Linked DNA regions of Homo sapiens: region 1 is linked to region 2. The links are contacts of gene promoters, found by promoter capture Hi-C in blood cells and fetal thymus (Javierre and others, 2016). All regions are on one chromosome and are shown on one strand. The core of a region is centred on a gene start or on the middle of the fragment in contact, and the rest is flanking DNA. Distances in the headings are between cores, read along the strand shown.

Region 1 (2,874 bases), core at 289-2,788, 6.4 Mb after region 2:
CTGAGGGACGCGTCAGCCAGGCACCCCGGGGTGTGGCCAGAGGACTTCGGCGACGCTTCCCCGAGAGTAGCCCCCCTCCTCAACCCAGAAAAGACAACCCCGCGGGGCTGCAGCGAGCCAGGCATGCTCACTGGCGCAGGCCCGGCCCGCAGCCCGAGCAGGAAGCGCCGGCGCTAGGCGGCCCCCTGCGCTGCCAGCTGGAGCCGGGCGGAGCCAGCGCCCCGGCGCAGGGTGGCTCTGCCAGTCCCCGCGCGCCTGGGCGGCCGCACACGTGTCCAGGCGTCACGTCCGCGCGCGCCCCCGGGGCTTGCGTCAGCGGCTGTTCCAGAAGCGGGTGGGCCAGGGCTCTGCGCACCGCTGGGGTTCGGGGCCCGGGACGCCGCCGGGAGGAGGGCACCGCGCGGGGTCCGACGCGGAGGCGTGCTCGGAACGCCGGGGGCTGCGGAGTGCATCAGCGCGGTCCAGCCCTCCGCCTGCCGGGCGCCGAGCGTCTCCGCCGCCCGGACCTGGGCTGGGCGCCGTGGCGTTGCCTCGGAGCTCGCTGCCCGCGGGGCGCGCACCGCCTTGACCCGGGCGGCCCCGCGGCAGGCAGGCGCCCGCAGTTCCATGGTTGGTTCGGAGCGCGATGAGCCGCCCGTCCTCCACCGGCCCCAGCGCTAATAAACCCTGCAGCAAGCAGCCGCCGCCGCAGCCCCAGCACACTCCGTCCCCGGCTGCGCCCCCGGCCGCCGCCACCATCTCGGCTGCGGGCCCCGGCTCGTCCGCGGTGCCCGCCGCGGCGGCGGTGATCTCGGGCCCCGGCGGCGGCGGCGGGGCCGGCCCGGTGTCCCCGCAGCACCACGAGCTGACCTCGCTCTTCGAGTGTCCGGTCTGCTTTGACTATGTCCTGCCTCCTATTCTGCAGTGCCAGGCCGGGCACCTGGTGTGTAACCAATGCCGCCAGAAGTTGAGCTGCTGCCCGACGTGCAGGGGCGCCCTGACGCCCAGCATCAGGAACCTGGCTATGGAGAAGGTGGCCTCGGCAGTCCTGTTTCCCTGTAAGGTAAGCCCAGGGACAGCCCACGTACCTCCGCCGGTGACCTCAGGGACTCCGGTATCCGCCAGCCCACTCGCAGGCCCGGAGAGGCGGGCGGCATCTCTCATTTAAAAAAAAAAAAGAAAAAATGTTTACACTTCGTCCACCCTCCCTCAAGCCCACTTTGGGTGTAGGTCTGGGTTGACATTTACCGAGTAATAATTGTTAATAGACAATTAACAGATTAATTGGCATTTGCTGATCGTTAGAACATCGTAGCTCACCCGGCCCAATGCCCGCGTCCTCTGCAGACGTGTATTCGGGTACTCTCGGTAGGGCTGGGCCGCACCAGTAAAACTTGGACCGAGAAACTGACTGTGTGGGGATTGAGGAGGGAGGAAACGGGCGAGCTAAACGCCCCCTTTACCAGCGCTGGGCTCGGCTGAATTGATAATTGGAGTCCTGCACCCCGCGCCTACCGTCTGCGCACCCCTGACACGTGGGAGCTCTCGGGATTGTAGCTAAAAAAAGGGCGCCTACAGCCTGTTTTCCTCTAGCTAGAAGAAAACCCTGCAAGCCACGCCTTTTTCTCTCCTAGCCTTCCAAAGACTGGGAAGGACTGAGGAGTTGTGGCTGCGTTGTTGTACTAAGTGGGGTGAAAACAGTCAATCAAGAAATTAACAAGGGCACTCAAGAGCTGTTGTTACAGTTGTTTAAAGCTCATCACTTCATTTTTTATTTAATGTAAAAAGTTTTCAATGCCCTTGCGAAAAATGCAAGCCACCAAGACAAGAAGTAAAATGAAAGACCAAGATCTCTCCCCTCCTTTCCCACCATTGTTAGGTTTAGTGTGTATCTTTTTAAACTATATATACATACACCCTCGCAGCTAAATATAGAATCATAGATGTCAGTGTATGTCAGGGAGGTTTTTTAATACCCACACATAGATGTAAGTTTTTCTCCAAAAATGGCATCTGCAACTTGCTGTTCTTAAATTCATATTATCACACATATTTCTCTATGCCTGAAACCTAGTCGACTTCATTGTATTTTAAATGGCTGCATAGTATTGCATTGTGTGGTCATATTATAACATTTGTTTACCTGCAGCTATTACGTGGAAACCTTCAGGAGCAGTTTCACAGACATACTTGTCTACGTTATAACCTAGAAGTATACTGTAAAGTCATTTTCTGAAATTAGAAGTGGAGATAATGTCACTAATACTTTCCAGTTTTTTTGTAAAAGTAACTTGCGCTGCCTCTTGGGCCATTTAAGCTGTCTTGCATTTCTCCTTGGTGCTGCTTATTTTATAGGACAAGAGCTCATTTTTAAATTAAAAATAATCCACCAGAGAATTCAGGCTTGGGACTCAGGTCAGTAAAATGAGTGCTTTAATTTGGTCTGCTGCCCTGCTGCAAATCAGGTTTAAAATAGCATATTTAAATAAGAGTTTGAATCGGTGTTTGGACTAGGGTGTTTCAGGCAACCTTAATAAATTGCTGTTAACCCCTCCTCATATAGTGCTTACTAATTCACTCAGCCCAGTTTCTCAAAATTTAGATAAAGTATTTGCATAGTTGTCTTAGGGTTGTGAAAAAGGTGACAACCTAGTGGTTGGAAAAGGTTTGGTGGTAGTTAACATAGAGTGGCTATTTGATGCTTGAGATATATTGCAGGGGTGGGGGATGCCCCATAGGATTTCTGGGGAGCCATTTTCTCACCCCTTTACTTTCCCTTAAACGCGCAGCGGCTAACAAAAGAAATGGCTTTTAGGTGAGTTTTAGTTCACAAATGAGCATTTGATATTAGTCAGTAATCCATAATTTGTTTTTAAAATGTAACCATAATAGAAT
Region 2 (2,700 bases), core at 1-2,500:
GAGCTGACCGCGATCGTTCCTGGCTTGGATGCCTTGAGGCTTGGCGCCGGCGGCCGGACCTGCAGGGGTTGCGGGGGACTCAGGCCACTTGTCTGACGGGGCGTAGGCAGCAGACTACCACTGAGCTCCGGGAAAAGGGAAAGGGGAAACTGATCAGCCCCCTCCAGTCACTTACCCCACAGTTAAGCCCTCCAGAAAACCCACCTCCCTGCTTGACCTCTGATGGCCGTTTCAGGGCTTGTGACGATTATGATATCGCCAGAGTCCTTCCGTGAAAATTGGAAATGCCATAATAATACTTAAATTCACTTACCCCAAAACAAGCAGTGTGTTACGAGGTTTATCCAGAAGATGAAGAGCAGAGCAAAAAGCAAATGATAGCCGTGGCTTTCACGTTTAAAAACAGTTCTTAGGCAGCGCCGGGTCGCGGTCCTGTAGTCCTAGCTACATCGGAGGGTGAGGCGGGAGGACTGCTGAAGCCCGGGAGTTCGAGGCCAGCCTGGGCAACATAGTGAGACCTTGTCTCTAAAAAGAAATAAGAAATGTTCCTGAAAGTTTTCATGACAGGGTAGAGTCCAAGCTTTTCCAGCATATGACTTATCTACTGCTACCTTTCTCCCTGAACTCCGTCAGCCCAGGGAAGAATCCAGGTTGGGATTTATGTTTACAGATCCAAAACTAAGCACAAGAGATCTTTAAATCCCATGACAAAACAGTGCCTGAAAGAGCTGACCACCAGATCCAGCTTTTGAGTTTGAAGCTGAGATCGTCCTGCATACAGCAGGATTGAGTGAATGAATATAAATAAATTATAGGTATAAAAACATGGTCCACAGCCACACCACCCTGAACTTGCCCTGTCTTCTCTGATCTTGGAAGCTAAGCAGGGTCTGACCTGCTTAGCTAGTCCTTGAATGCGAGACCACCTTGAAACACTGGGTGCCGCAGGCTTTTGAAAAATAAAATATATATATACGTTTGATCATTCCCTAATTTTGTAATTCTGAAAATTAAGTATACACTAGATATTTTTATATCTAAAGGCAAGACAGTAATCCAGCCAACATTTTACACTGATCCCTCTTTCCCACCTTAAGAAATAATTCAGGTGGGGTTTTTTTTTGTGTTTTTTGTATTTTTTTGAGGCAGCGTTTTGCTCTTGTCACCCAGGCTGGAGTGCAATGGGCGCGATCTTGGCTCACTGCAACCTGCGCCTTCTGGGTTCAAGTGAGTCTCCTGCCTCAGCCTCCTGAAGTAGCTGGGATTAGAGGCATGCGGCACCACACCTGGCTAACACCGCAAACGGGGTTTCACCATGTTGGTCACGCTGGTCTCCAACTCCTGACCTCAGGTGATCCAGCCACCTCGGCCTCCCAAAGCGCTGGGATTACAGGCGTGAGCCACCGCGTCTGGCCAGTTCAGGTGTTTTTTAAGAGATGAGGTCTCCTTATGTTGCCCAGGCTGGACTTGAACTCCTGGGATCAAGTTATCCTCTCGCCTTAGTCTCCTGAGTACCTGGTACTACAGCTGTGCCCAATCACACCTGCCTTAACTGTGTTGTTTTTGAGAGTCCAGTGATAGTATATGAAAATGCTGTGAAAACTATAAAAATCAGGTATCAAATATAAGTCGACTCTCAAGACTAGGATGTAGATACCTCTGAACGTTTCCTGATTGCTGAAAATAAAAGTCTTGTTCTGTGCTATTTTTAAGATGGGGCTGATAAGCAATATCCAGTTATGTGCTGTATGCATGTGCCTGCGTGTGTATGTGCATGTGTGTGTGACAGTGACACTATAAAGAAACAGTTCCCTGAGGCAAAACTAGACTAGGTCTCCAGTGACTTCAATGTTACAATGCACATAGTTTAAATCGAAATTCCCTCTAAAGCACCTTGTGGTAGATCTGGAGAAAGCTTGTTCTTTTAGTACTAAGGTATCATTGTTTTCACTGTGGTAACAAATGCTATACTTGTTCCAGAGAACCAACATTACAGTAGAGCCCTTGTGTGTGGTCATGGAAAGAACACTGGACTGGGCATCAGAAAAACCACCGTTCTAATTTCACTCTGCTACTGGATCTAAAATCTTGGTCGAGTCCTTTCACATCTCTGAACTTCCATTTCTTCACATGTAATGGTCTTTGTTCCTCTCCTGTATGCTCCTGTAGCATTCTACCCTTTCATGTAGCATTCCATGTACTCTATTTGTTCATCACTTTGGTCTTAGTGCCTAGCATAACATAGTTTAGTGAATACTCAGTAGAGATTTGTTAGAGTCATTCTAACTGTACAAAATTTCATTATGGGCCATTTTTCTTTGATACTGATATTTGTTAGAATGCTATTTACTGTGGAAGAATAATCCCATGGATTACTTATTAATTGCAAGGGTGTTAAGGTACTTTTACAATGGAGAAATCTGATGGATACCACCTTAACAAATGATAAAAAGTAGCCAATAATTGAACAAAAAATTGGGCATCGTGTGCCCCTAGATGTGAAGCATGGAGATACAACATTACCTATGGAGTATTCCTTGAAAAATCTTTAACCTGAATCTAATCATGAGGAAATAATCAGACACATCCAAATTTAGGAACATGCTTCAAAGTAGTTGGCCTGGAATTGTGAAAAATATCACAAGACACACACACACACACACACACACACACACACACACACACAAACTGCTATAGAAT

What was found. The method cuts DNA at HindIII sites, captures the fragments that hold promoters and counts their contacts. A CHiCAGO score of 5 or more calls a contact.
Region 1: the fragment with the promoter of SIAH2-AS1 here is called in contact with a fragment that was not itself captured in region 2 in 1 of 17 cell types (activated CD4 T cells); the score reaches 5.5 in activated CD4 T cells.

What each region holds. Positions count from the first base shown.
Region 1 is chr3:150,760,601-150,763,474 of GRCh38, reverse strand. It overlaps SIAH2-AS1 (SIAH2 and CLRN1 antisense RNA 1), which reads right to left and starts at 1,538. Exons shown (of 3, transcript NR_187306.1): 1 at 1,495-1,538; 2 at 1,068-1,136. SIAH2 (siah E3 ubiquitin protein ligase 2) reads left to right here and starts at 306. Exons shown (of 2, transcript NM_005067.7): 1 at 306-1,042. The coding sequence starts at 626. RefSeq lists a silencer at 1-780 and enhancers at 1-835, 2,652-2,751. The HindIII fragment of the contact is 3,527 bases long and covers 1-2,874 here.
Region 2 is chr3:157,172,169-157,174,868 of GRCh38, reverse strand. It overlaps LOC101928236 (a long non-coding RNA gene), which reads right to left and starts at 1,169. Exons shown (of 10, transcript XR_007096141.1): 1 at 314-1,169; 2 at 1-120. It also overlaps the pseudogene RNA5SP146. RefSeq lists enhancers at 1-34, 1-520. The HindIII fragment of the contact is 1,335 bases long and covers 583-1,917 here.